2 separate regions of the Homo sapiens genome follow, and region 2 is linked to region 1. Evidence: promoter capture Hi-C in 16 types of primary human blood cells and fetal thymus (Javierre and others, 2016). All regions are on one chromosome and are shown on one strand. The core of a region is centred on a gene start or on the middle of the fragment in contact, and the rest is flanking DNA. Distances in the headings are between cores, read along the strand shown. Region 1 holds the start of SH3PXD2B (SH3 and PX domains 2B). Region 2 overlaps ERGIC1 (endoplasmic reticulum-golgi intermediate compartment 1).

Region 1 (6,232 bases), core at 841-3,340:
GTGTGGCTGGGGGCAGGTCTCTCTGCCTCTCCGGAAAAACCCAGGAAGCTGGCTGATTCAGAGAGGGCCTCTAGCTTCTGCCTTCTTAGGAAGGCTTGGCTCCTAATAAGGCAATGCACGATGTGGCAGGGACGGAAAAGCAGACCTTCACTTCTTTGGACATTTCCAATGAGGCCTCAGGACCCTCTGGCTTGGGACTGTACTTCAGAAGAATGTGCCTTACAGGAATTACATGAGTGAGGGTCCTGGCACCGAACAGATGCCACCCTCAAGCTGGGTCCATGAAGACAGTTTAGTAAAGGGTCAATGTATACGGGTGTGGGCGGGGCTAAGGAAGCACCGAGGATGGCGTAGTACCCAGGGCTTGCAACAGCAAGACTGTCACTGTCCTGAGCAGAAAAGTGGCTTCAGGAACCCTGAGAGAGACCATGTGAGAAAGGGCACCTTTGGTAAAAACAATCGGGGAGGAGGGGCTTAGGGATTAAATACCCAGACCTCCCTCTCTCCTCTTGCCCTCAATCTCCTGCCAGGCCCTTCCACTGGCCAAGCCAAACAGGAAGACCAGGACAGAGAGCTGTCAGTGAAATCCACACAGGCCAGCCTCTGGGGCTGGAGCAGGATGGTAAAGTCTGGCAAGGAAGTCAGAGGAGCAAATGGAGGGGCGGATCCAAAGTGAATCAGCCCAAATCATCCACGTGGCCTGGCCGAGGCTGAGAGCCGTCCTACCCTGGATAAGCCCACCCTTTTCCAAAGGCTGATCCTGGACCGGGGTGGGAAGTAGCTCTGTCGTGGCATGGAGAAGAGTCGTACGGTTTGTTGAAAAGAGCCCCCACTTACTGGCTGTGAAAACACTGGCCAGGAGCCTAAACCTCCCATCCATGCATTATATATTCATTTATCCATTCATTCAGCCAACATCTCCTGAAAGTGACTCAGTGCCCAGCCAGTGCTAGGAGGCACTAGATGAAGAAACGAGGAGCTGCCCCAGCCACGGCAGCTTCAACGTGTGAGATCCACCTAGAGCCAGGCAGTGACGGGCTCCATCCACCGGCTCCCTGACTCTGGACCTTCACTGATGTAATTCCTGTAAGGCACATTCTTCTGAAGTACAGTTCCCAAGTCAGAGGGTCCTCAGGCCTCATTGGAAATGTCCAAATGTCTGGAGGCCGTCCTCTGTAAAAACACCTTTTCCTCCTAGAGTCTGCCTGAGGATGCAAAGACAGCATTTGTGAAAAGCAGGGGCCACGGGGCCCAGCGAGCAGTTAAGTGCTCCGCAACTGGAAATCGATGGCCTTGCTAACAAGCACCCAGCTGCCCCTCACACATAGTCACCACCCTTTTATCCCCTTTTGTTGCTTCCATGGCAATTACATTGCACGTATGCGCATTTGTTGCAGTTTTTCTCTCCCTCACTCCCCATGTCCCAGACTGAGGCTGGGGGAACCTGGTCACGGGTCTCTTGCTCCTCCTGAATCACCAGGGCTTGGGGTGGCTTTAGGAACGCCAGCACTCATACCATGGACTGCACTGCGGAATGGCTTCACATGCACTTAATCCCGGGCGCAGCACCGGCAGGCAGGCGGTACTACTGACACGTGCTACAACATGGATGAGCCTTGAGGACATTATGCCGAGTGAAATAAGCCAGACACAAAAAGACAAACATGGTGCTTGTACTACTAGGCTCATATTATAGACGAAGAGACCCAACCCAGAGAGGTTAAGCAACTTGCCGAGGGCACAGAGTGGAAAAGCGGCAAAGCCGGGATTCGAACCCGGGTGTCCGGCTCTCCAAACTGGCGGTGGATGGCGGCTGCCGGAGCGAGAGTGCTGGAATGAATCGATACGTCAATCAGTGAACGGGCGACGGGGTCAGTCCAGTCCCCTCCCCCGGCGCGGCGGCTCAGCACCGGGACAAAGGCCGGGCGGGGGCCGGACGTGGCCGGCGGGGTTCGCGCGCGGTGGGCGGGGGTCGGGGCCGGGCCCTTTAAGGGGGGCGGGCCGGCGGCGCGGGGGGCGGTGCGGGGGGCGGTGCGGGGGGCGGTGCGGGGGGCGGGCCGGGGGCGGGCGGCGGCGGCTGGGCCCGGCTGGAGTGCGCGCCGAGCGAAGGGCGGCGGCGGTGGCGGCGGCGGCTCGTGCTCGGCCCCGGCTGCGATTGCGCTCAGCTCCAGGTTCCCTGCCCGCGGCGGCGCGCCCCCAGCGCTCCCTGCACCCCGCGCCACCCGCACCCGCGCTCGGCCCGCTGCGGGCGGAGGAGCGGCCATGCCGCCGCGGCGCAGCATCGTGGAGGTGAAGGTGCTAGACGTGCAGAAGCGGCGGGTGCCCAACAAGCATTATGTGAGTGCGGCGCGGCCCCCACGCCCCCTTGAGCCCGCGCCCCGTCGGGGGCGACCGAGGGCCCCCGGCTTGGAAAACTTCTGCCTCCAGCGCTTCCCGTCCCCTCCTCCCCTGCTCTCCCCTCGGCTCTGCGGCGGCGCTGCCCGGGTCCCTCCCGACTCCTCCTCCCTCCCTCCCCTCCCCTCCCCGCTTTTGCCTCGTTCTCCCCCTCCATCCCTTCCTCCCGCCTCGCCCCCCTACTCGCCTCCCTGCGGCTCCTCTACCCCTTTCTGTCTTCTCCGTGTCCCCCCAACTCCCGTCCTGCTCATCTGTGGAAAAGTCTGGCTCCAGCCGGTGAGGGGTCTGAGACAGAAAGCGGGAGAGACAGAAGTGCCTGTTCTCAGGCCGCCCGCCTTGCCCCTCCTTGTCCAGAGGCGCGCAGACCCGCAGTCCCCAGCCACAGGTAGCCCCTCTAGGGTTCGCCGAATTTGACTCCGTTCTTTGGCAAGAGCCGGCCTGGGCGATGGAGGAGATCTCTGGGAATGGATCATTTGAGTGGCTACGCCTTTAAAGGGTTAAAAACATCCCCTGCCCCCTCTCTCCAGTAACTTCTGTTTTAAAATGTACGAAAGTTTTCTCCTGGCATCTCCCTCTGGAACATGGGAATCTTGTTTGGAGCTGGCAAGGACTTGAGAAAATGGGACAGTAGCGTCGTTTTGCAGATAGGAAGGCTGAGGCTCAGAGGTTGCAGGTCCTGGAACATAGAGCTGCATTCGGGCTTCCCTCCCTCCAGCAGGGGTGCCTGGGGCTGACGGTGACCTGCAGGTGGAAAGTGGCTTCCGCAGCAACCTAGGGGACACGTCTGCAGATTCAGGAGGCCCTGGGACCACCTCGCAGGTTCTAGGTGGAGATAAAGGGGATGTGGGGTGATGGGCCCACATGAGGCCTTGGGGAGGGCCTCATTACAGCAGGGAAGGGGGCTATAGTGTCTCTGGCGGTGAGAAGTGGGCAGTGGCGGAGCCTGGCTGCAGAGAAGTTAACCAGGAAGGGAAAAAGAGTAAGAGGGAGGGAAAAAATCCTAACAAAGAAGTATAGAACAATGAATAGAAAAGGGCGTTGGCTGGCTAAATTAAGCTCCTTGGCCTCCCTGGAAGTCGTCTTCAGATCTTTTTTTTTTAAGAACTAATTCTTACAAAGTAGATCTGCATGCCTTCCGTGAATAGCCTGTGAAATTCTGAAAGGAGATAGCCGGGAACCCACTCCGCGCTCTCCACAAGAAAGGGTGTGCTGTGTGAGTCTGTATTGTTATTGGCTGGGCAGCCAGTTATTCAGCCCTTAGCCAGGCGGTGGGAAGCTATTTCCTGGACCTGTGGCATCTTTATATAGAGTGAAGTTTCCCTTGATTCCAGAGCTGAGCTAAATTGTCTTTTTTTTTTCCTTCCTTTTTTTATTTTTTGTTAACTGTTTTCAAATGCTGCCAAATCTTAGTTTCTTGTTTGAGCCTGTTAGCGTGTAAGTGAGTTTGCCTCTTTGGCATGAAGACAGTTTTCACCAACATGGCAACTGGAGGAAGTCTGGAATTCTCCATGCCACCTCCCACCAGGTCTGTGAGCTGGCAAAAACGAGAATAGATACTGCCACCGAGGCCCGGCCATCATCGTCCACGCGCCCTCTTCTGGCCTCTCCTATCACGCCCATATCAGGCAGAGGGCCTTAAGCCCATTTGACAGATGAGGAAACCAGGGCTCAGCAAAGTGAGGTCCCACGCCTAAGGTCACAGTCAAGAGCCAAGCAGGGATGTAGATCCAGGCCCGCTGGACCCCAAAAGGACCACACCACTTCCCACATCCGGTACCCCTATAGTTTCTCTGAGCAAAGTCCTCTGAAAAACTGGGAAATCTCTCTTATCATTAGTGAAAACCTGGAAGCTTTTCATTCTCTGCTGTGTCAGCTCCATCCTTGCCAGTTTTTTGAAGGTTTTGCGCTTTGAGAACCGTCTTTTGAAGCTTTCAGCCACTTTTTGGGGGCCCCCTGAGACAAGTTTCTATGTTAAAACATAGATTGGGATTCAGATCTTGGCCTCCCAGGTTGTAGCTGTGTCACCTCAGCCTCAGTTTTTTCATCTGTGTAATGGGGATGGTGGTGTCCATTTCCTAGAGGTAGCAGCCGCATGACAGGCTGCCTTAGGGCATTCCTAAATGCCCTAAAGGCATAGCTCCCTGCCTGCCTGTCCTGAGGTATCTTGTCACTGATTGGGAACATGCCAAAGTCACATGGTAGGGGGATTCATCAAGAACTTGTTTTTCTGCATGTGGCTTTAGTCACTCATGTGATTCAAGAGGCCCTCTCCCTTCTAGCCCAGGCTTCTGGGTTCATCAGATGAGGAGGGGCAATGGGCTGAACTGAAGCCTGAGTCATCCACAGGAACAGAGAACATTTACTGCCTTGATGGCAGGGGGGCCAAACCCAATGGAAACAGATCCCTGTGGTGGGCGACCGCTGCTGTTCCCAAGCTCCACCCCAACCCCTCACACAATCTGGAAAGAGCGGGCATGAAGGCAGCTATTGGCAGGCCTGGACTTTGACTCCCATTTGGTATCCCTTTTTCTGAAGCCACCCTGGAGAGACAGCATCAGCTGGGGAGTTGAACTTTTCTGCTGTGTGACCTCGGACTGGTTGGTTTGCCTCTCTGAGCTCTAGCTTCTGTGTAAATACTGCTACATCCCTCAAGGGCAGAGTTTCTCAAACTCAACACTTTTGACATTTGGGGCTGGATCATTCTTTGTTTCAGGGCTGTCCTGTGGATTGCAGGATGTTTAGCAGCTTCCCTGGCTTCTACCCAGCTAGTTATCCCCCTTCCCAATTGTGACACCCAAAAGGCCTCCAGGCATTGATTGCTGCATGTCCTCTAGGGGGCAGCACCACACACATTCCCACCCCAGCCACTGCGCCATAGACTATAAAGTCAGTTTTTGAGAGTCCTCTTCACTACGCCCCCTAATTTCCCACTACCCCTCTCCCCATTTGCAGCCATCTCGGCCACTACCTGCTCATCACTCACTTGCCTGTGAGGGACAGGGTCACAGGTGCTGTAGATGTCATTGGAGAACTGCACCCGGAGTTCAGGGCTGCCCATCAGGGCTGGGCCACCTGCTCCCTCTGAAATGGTGCCTTCTCCATGATCAGAATGGCGTCCTCTCCAGCCCCAGCCTCAGTCACCCGCAGGCAGAGACATCATCCATGGGCCCAGGGGCAGAGCCACAGGCCAGGTCTGGAGAATGCAGGGCCAGAAGCTCCAGGTGCCTGTGAGATCCTGAGAGGCTGATGACAATGAACCATGATATTGTTTGGAGAGCCTTTCCCTGGAGCCACTGCCCTCTGTTGGAAGCAGGGAGATGAAGATTTGGGGAGCTCCTGCCTTTCTCTGCCAGCATCTTTCCTGCACTAGAGCCCGAGGGCTTGGGGATGAATGGAGAGGGGCTTTTGAGGGTGACATCCTGGGAGACCCTCCCCAGCTAGCTTGTCTTCAGCTTGGGGGGAGGAAGAAGAGCTCCAGGTAGGATTTGTGGGTTTTATTTGGATCACCCCATTTCCCGCACTGGAGAGGGATGTACAGAAGCATTAGTGTCTCGGCAGCAGGAGCCTGGAGATGCTGGCCTGCTCTGTCTCAAGATCTTTAAATGTTAAGAGGAGCAGGATGGTCGGAATATTTATGGCAGCAAGAATAACAGTGGTCAAAGTGTCCTCGGTAACCTGAGCGGGGCACTGGGTCCCTTTCAAATGGGTATATTTTCAATATAGTAATACAATATTCTGCACATATATAGATACATAGAATAAAATAGCTATCTATATCTATATACCTTCCAAGTCTTCACATCTCTATATTTTGCCAATTTGTTTCAAAACTTTTTTG
Region 2 (6,903 bases), core at 1,418-3,917, 470 kb before region 1:
CTGGACCATCTCGGCACAGAACATGCCGTGTCACATACGCTTACTGATCCATTTTTCTGAAAGTAACCTTGAGGGTCTTTCACATGAAAACCACCAGCTGGGCGCTCTAGGAGAGGGGTGATGTTTGAGACGCCCCCTGCCTAGGACCCATTTCCCTGTTCTGTTCCTGGTGAAACCCTTCTTACCCTTCCAGGCTTGGCTTAGATGTCACCTTAACGGTAACTCTTCCTAGTGCCCAGAGAGGGCAGAGGGCACTGGGTGACAGAGCCCCTGAAGGCCCACCCCCGGCCATGCCATCTCGAGTGTCCCCTGCTCACCTGTAGCGTGTCCCCAAAGGAGAGCTTGTGGATGACATGCGTCATGTCTGGGTTCTGTGGCTGGGCTGTGGCACTGTGTGTGGACACGTGGAAGTTGCCGGGGACCTGGGGGAGAAATGTGAGTTTCAGGAGTTTGGTTGACTTCTCCAGGGGGCGGAACATTGGGGCCTCACCCTGTGTGATCCAGGGAGGACACTGGAATCAGGCAGATCTGGGTTTGGATCCTGCTTGTATCATTTTCAACTGTGCAAAGGAGTCACCCCATCTCTCTGGGCCTCAGGCTCCTCATCTGCAGAATGGGGGCACTACCATAGCTTCCGAGGGGGCTGCCAGGACTATCTGGTGAGAGGGTGCATGTGAAGTGCCCATCTGGGCGACGGGCACAAAGCCAGGACTCATGGCAGCTGCTCCCCCTCCAGCTCTGTGGATTCTGGGCGGCTGACCCCACAGTCAGCTGGGGGATGACCTTTGAGCTTGCAGACTAATGGGGATTCCTCAGACTCCAAACCCCTATCATTTCCTACCCAAGTTTGCCCCAGTGCCCTAGACGGGGGATCCCTGATGGACAGACTGTGGTAGCCTCATCTCTTCCCTGGGTCTCAAGCCCTCGCAGAGCCAAGCCAGCAAGAGGTGCTGGATGAGTATTTACAGAACAAAGGATGCTGGTGACAACCATGTGGCAGGAGCCACTGCAGCTTCTCCTTGTTTCAGCACGAAGTCCCTCCTCCTCCCCCTCCTCCCCCTCCTCCTCCCAGATGCTTAGACTAGAACCCTTAGTATGATCCTGGAACCCTCCTCCTCCTCCCAGATGCTCAGACTAGAACCCTTGGTATGATCCTGGAACCCTCCTCCCTCCTCCCAGATGCTCAGACTAGAACCCTTGGTATGATCCTGGAACCCTCCTCCTCCTCCTCCTCCCAGATGCTCAGACTAGAACCCTTGGTATGATCCTGGAACCCTCCTCCTCCTCCTCCTCCCAGATGCTCAGACTAGAACCCTTGGTATGATCCTGGAACCCTCCTCCTCCTCCTCCTCCTAGATGCTCAGACTAGAACCCTTGGTATGATCCTGGAACCCCCCTTTCTCACTCCCGACGTCCCATCCATCAGCTGAAACCCTGTTAGCTCCACCTTCCAAACACACCTGGCGCCTGACCTCTTCTCTGCTGCCCTGGTCCAAGGTCGTCTCTTCATGGACAACAATGGCAGGCTCCTCCCTGGGCTCCCAGCTTCCATGTTCCCCACAGCCTGGGCCTTTTCCCAATAATGACTGTTAAGATCTTTTTAAACCCTACATCAGATCTCATCACTCCTCTGCCCAGAACCCTCCACGGCTTCTATTCTCTCAGAGTCCAGGTCCATGTCCTCGTGGTGGCCCACAGGCCACATCTGGCCGCTGGCCAAGCATCGTGTCCCCACCGCTTGGCCTCCTGCTGCTGTGTCCTCTGCTGCTTCCTGTCTGGTCTCCTGCCGTGCCGGGAACAGCATCCAGTGTGGCCCCATTTTAGGCCTTTGTGCCTGCACCCCTTCCTGGGACCCTCTTCCACATGGCCCTCCCTCGGACCCTCAGGGCCCAACAGAGAGGCCCTCCACGTCCACCTGTGCAAAAGAGCACCCTGGCCCCCATTCCCCATCCCCTTACCTGCTACAGCCTCTGGGATCACCTGCCATCTCATACCCATCCTGTTCTCGTCTGCCTCCTCCCATTAGCATGTCCACGCCCTGCTGTGCTCCCCAGACTCCGACACATAGCAGGTGCTCAATAGACACTTTTTGAATGAATGAATGACTAAACAAACAACACTGAATCCTTTGACTTTGTCATCTGATAATTCCCATTTTACAGAAAAGAAAATGGAGGCTCAGAGCAGTGAAGAAACTTGCTAAGGTCACATGTCGAGAGCTGCAGTCTCAGCTCACGTCTGTTGGACGCACTGCTCCCTCCTCTGATGCCTGGATGCCATCTACCTCCGCAGCCTGGGCTGATGGCCACATGGCGCCAGTCCTTCAGGAGATGCCGGAACTGGGGAGATGAGCAGACAAGAATCTGGCCTTGGCCAAGCCCCTGTGACACAGACTTGGAACAGACAATGAGACTCTGTGGGATCCACCCTGGCCCAGAGGAATTTGCAGACCATGGGGGTTACAGGGAAGGCCCCCGGCTCAATTGAGGGTGCAGGCTGTATTCAGGGAGGGCTTCCCAGGGGGAAGGACATCCTGTGTTAAGGCTCTGAAGATGAGTCTGCATTACTCAGGAAGAGAGCGAAAGGCATCTGGGCAGAGGGAACAGCATGAACAGGTGCAGAGGACAGAAACTTCCCAGCATGTGGGCTGTCTAAGGAACTAAGAGTCTGGTATTATTGAACTCCAAATGAGACGGAGGTGGCGGTGCTGGCAGCAGCAGGAAACAAAGAGGCACAAGGGAGGAGTTGGGGCTGTTTATCAAAGGTCCCCAGATGCCACACTGAAAAACTCGGGGGTTACCTTATTCCAGCCCAATGAAGAAGACTGTGCGAGCTGTGTCCGAGGAGGGAATATAGCTTATCGTGCAGCAGCCCATCAAAGTCTGATTTTGTAAGCATGTCTGTTTCAAACACAAAGTTGGGGACTTCCTGCAGGAATATTCCTACTTCAGCAGGGCCCGAGCTTGTGGCTGACAGGGGAGGCATCAAGCTGACAGCCTGTAGCCTCGGCCTCAGCAAACTCGCAGTGGAGCGAGCTGCAGGCTACAGTGGAGAAGGGACACTTGCTGGGTCAGGAGTGGAGCAGAAACAAAGGCGTGGCAAGATCTCCCTCGAGGGACAGCATCGCCTGCTTCAGGGACCCAATAACCCATAGTAGAGCGGTTGCTCTGAGTTCTACACTTGGCCCCAAGCCCAGCCCCACTTCCTAGCTGGGGAGCCTTAGGCGAGGTCAGTAACCACTCCATGCCTCAGTTTCTCCATCAGCGAAATGGGCGTAAAGCCAGAAGATTACTGGGAGGATTCATTGAGGTGATGCATACAAAGCAGCCCGCAGCTGGCCTCAGATCGGGTTTGTAGGGTGAACATGTTTGTCATCGGAGCCAACCAAGAAGGGCCCTCCCGGAAGAGGGAACACTCACAGGCAGGGCGTGAGGAAAAGCCCACTGTGGGTTTTAACATTTATGCCTCATTTTCACCGATAAAAATAATGCCTGGGTACATTTTCATGATAAAACAGTCATGAGACACAGTCAGACTAAAGACCCTGTTGCTGACCACCCCTGGGAGTAAGAAACCCACAGCCATAAGGCGTGTGTCCTCCCAGAGGTTTTCTACGCAGTGACACAGGGCCTTCCGCAGATCGGGCCATGGCAGAGTTCAGAACTGGGATTGGGGCCTGGGCCGCGTGCTCCGGGAGTGAAGTGAGTCAAGAAGGCTGTCCCCTCAGCACCTGCCACCCCTGCCGGGCCGTGCGAGGCTGTGACTCAGGAACCCACTCCCCCTCCACACCAAATCCATCACAGGTGGCTGACTCATGCCAGCACATGCTGGGCTGAAGAAAGAAACAGCAACGCTTTTAGAGCCTGTGACTTAGGAACCTACGTCAGTGTCTCTGATGGATTTTAAAAACATATAGCTGGAGCCAGGCCCCATACCCCTCACCCCATCCTGTCCTCCTCCTGCGGGGCTGGCTGATGAAACGAGGTCACCGTGGGGTCTCTGGTGAGGCTGCCGCTGCTGCTCAAAACACGCAAACTCTGACATCTGGCTGCTGGTCAACTTCCTGGGGGTCGGATAAGGAGGCCATGGGACAAGTCTCAGCCTGATGCTGGGAGAGAGGTGCGGGGGCTGGCTGCTGACCTTGCCATCACAGCACATGGACCCTGGTGGCTTCTTTGAGCACCTCTTGATGGGCGGTTCCTCAAAGGGAAAGTGGCTGGGCTGGGGTGGGGGACGGTCTCTACTCCCTCCAGGAGTATGGGGCAGAGGGTGCCCTAGGCTGTGACCTGGGGCACACAGACACAGCTGGTCATGACATGTGTAACCAAGATGTTGGGAGAAGCAGCCACAGGCAGTGAGCTCAGAGGGCCAGGGCCCTGGTGCTAGGCTGCCTGTGTTAAAATCCTGGCTGCGTGACCTTGACCAGGTCACTTAACCTCCTGTGCCTCAGTTTCCTCCAGGCTACTGTGAGGACTAAAGGAGCTAATATGTGGAAAGGGCTGGGTAAGAACCTAGTACGTGGCAGCCATAACGCGGGTCTAAGAAAGGCTGGTGTGAGCCTTTCAAAGACTCCCTGGCACTCCCCTGACCAGAGAAGGCCCATTTCTTGGACGCCCTCCATGTGCCTTCCACAGGCGCACTTGTAAGGTGGGTGCCAGCTGATGAGGTCATGGAAACTTTGCACTGACGGGAGATGAGGCAGGCCAGGATGCTTGTCCAGTCTCTACTGCAGAGTTTGTTCATGTTTCACAGCCTGTGAGGTATTATTATCCCCATTCTACAGATGAGGAACCTGAGGCTCAGAGAAGCTAAACTGCCCAGAGTCATTCAACCAGTGACCATGGTAGCCGGGATCCTTGACCACAGGTCTGTCTGACCCCAAAGGACAAGTTCACCCAGAGCTGGCTGGGGGCTCCAGCACAGCCCATTCTAAGGGGAGCAGACTGCAGTCTTGGGCGTGTTTGCCAAGAGGTGGGAGGGCTTGGTGGCAGGGCTGTCTCGTGGGTTGTCACTCCAGGTGCTTGAATAAGCACGATCCCTTCTTGGTCACCATCTGGGGTACATATATTTTTTCAGCCCAGGTGGTTGCATCTCCCCGGGGGCGGGGGGCCCACAGTGAGGAGGTGTGCGTGTACGTCTGTTCATCTGTGCATCTTCATCTTCAGTCTTCAGACAGGGCTTCCTTTGTAACCTCAGGGGTCTCCTCCTTCATTCTCCACCACAGCACCCCGTCATTCTCTTCACGGCTGCTTTATCAAAATCACATATTTCCTGTTTACCTGAGCACTGGCTGTCCCCCCGTTATAGAACATGGGCCACCAACGGCGGGGAGCATGGCTGTTTCTCTCCCATTGCAGCCCAGCGCCAAGCACAGAGCCAGGCGTGAGGTGGATGCTCAATAGCACGAAAGCCTGAGTGGAGTGGTCAAAGGGAGAGGCCAAGTCAAGGAGGAGGCACAGGCAGCAGCCGCAGCGTGATGAGGGGCGTGGTGGGGAGTGAATGTGGGTGGGCAGGGAAGGGGAGGGAGGACTTCCCCTGAGGGACCCACATCAGCTGAGGCCTGTGGGTGAGTAGTGGTTCCCCAAGAGGATGAGGTGGGGACAGAGGGAGGGTATGGAGGCCCAGCAGAGGTCCCCCACCAACCCCCCACCTGCCTGCCGGCACTGTGAACCTCTCCAAGGCCTTAAACCCCCAACTGTGGCCTGCGTCTGGCTCCCATTGCTTCGTAAGGACGTGGCTCCTGCAGCGGCCCCTTCTCTCCTCATCATCAGCGTTTTCTGGAGCACTCTCTGCAGCACTTAGATCACTGTCCATTCCAAGCCTGCCTTCCTGAGCCTGGTAGCGCCAGCCCTGCTCTTTGATATCTATACATATGTTCTTTTCCAGGCTGCAGGTTCCGCCCAGCCTTTGCTTCCTCCTTCCTGTTCGACTGCCCCTTCTTGCACCTTTTGTTACCCCCGCATCTCCCCACCTCGAAGTGACTGGGCGGGGCGCCAGAACTCAGTCCTCAAACTGCAATTCTCTCCAGACCTTAGGTTCTTAAGGCTTTTGGTGCCACGGATGATCCTTTGCCAGTCTAATGATACCTACGTTTTAAATGCTTAAAATGTTTTAATGCGTAAAATGCATAGGATTACAAAGTAAAGAGATATTTAAATAGTAATTAAAATATTTAAAAATCCACATTTGAATATGCTGCTTTACTGATGCATCAAATAAGATGACCTAGTGGTGGGTCTAATAATTACTGTAATTTTTATTGACTGATTGATTAAGGGTTTCACTCTGTCACCCAGGCTGGAGTGTGGTGGTGCGATCTCAGCTCACTGAAGCCTCTACCTCCCTGGGCTCAGAAGACCCTCCCACCTCGGCCTCCCGAGTAGCTGTGACTACAAGCATAGGCTTGGTTAACTTTTGTATTTTTTTGTAGGTACAGGGTTTTGACATGTTGACCAGGCTGGTCTTGAACTCCTCAAGTGATCCACCCACTTTGGCCTCCCAAAGTGCTGGGATTACAGGTGTGAGCCACTGCACCTGGCCAATCACCGTAATTTTAAAACAGTGGTGCATATAAACAGTCTCTGGAAATTATCTGCAACAACTGTAACGTGCTATAAATACCGGCAATTTCTGTTGTTGAGGAGGTCCCAGGCACTGCTAATACTACTGTGGTTTGTGGCCTACATTCATCGCAGATGGAAATGCTAAACTTTAGATCGAGTTTAGCAAAAATAAAGATGTCAATTTTTCCCCCATCCAACTTCATAGATCTCTTGCATTCAATCCGCTCTTCTTGGGGGTGTCTGTGGACCCCAGGTTTAGAACACGGATCTACAGCCTCTCCGTAGGTAATCTTGCTTAAACCAATGCTCCTCAAACTTCAGTGGCATCAGAATCTCTGAG

The links. Contacts are between HindIII fragments. The CHiCAGO score rates a contact against its expected background, and 5 or more counts as called.
Region 2: a fragment that was not itself captured here is called in contact with the fragment with the promoter of SH3PXD2B in region 1 in 2 of 17 cell types (monocytes and naive CD8 T cells); the score reaches 5.2 in monocytes.

Annotation. Positions count from the first base shown.
Region 1 is chr5:172,450,383-172,456,614 of GRCh38, reverse strand. SH3PXD2B (SH3 and PX domains 2B) reads left to right here and starts at 2,090. Exons shown (of 13, transcript NM_001017995.3): 1 at 2,090-2,337. The coding sequence starts at 2,263. RefSeq lists an enhancer at 2,603-3,124. The HindIII fragment of the contact is 9,231 bases long and covers 1-4,246 here.
Region 2 is chr5:172,917,524-172,924,426 of GRCh38, reverse strand. It overlaps ERGIC1 (endoplasmic reticulum-golgi intermediate compartment 1), which reads right to left. Exons shown (of 10, transcript NM_001031711.3): 6 at 318-422. Among named protein-coding and RNA genes, the nearest start is that of MIR10523, 5.9 kb to the right of the region's middle. RefSeq lists enhancers at 3,567-4,211, 5,540-6,041. The HindIII fragment of the contact is 9,131 bases long and covers 1-6,903 here.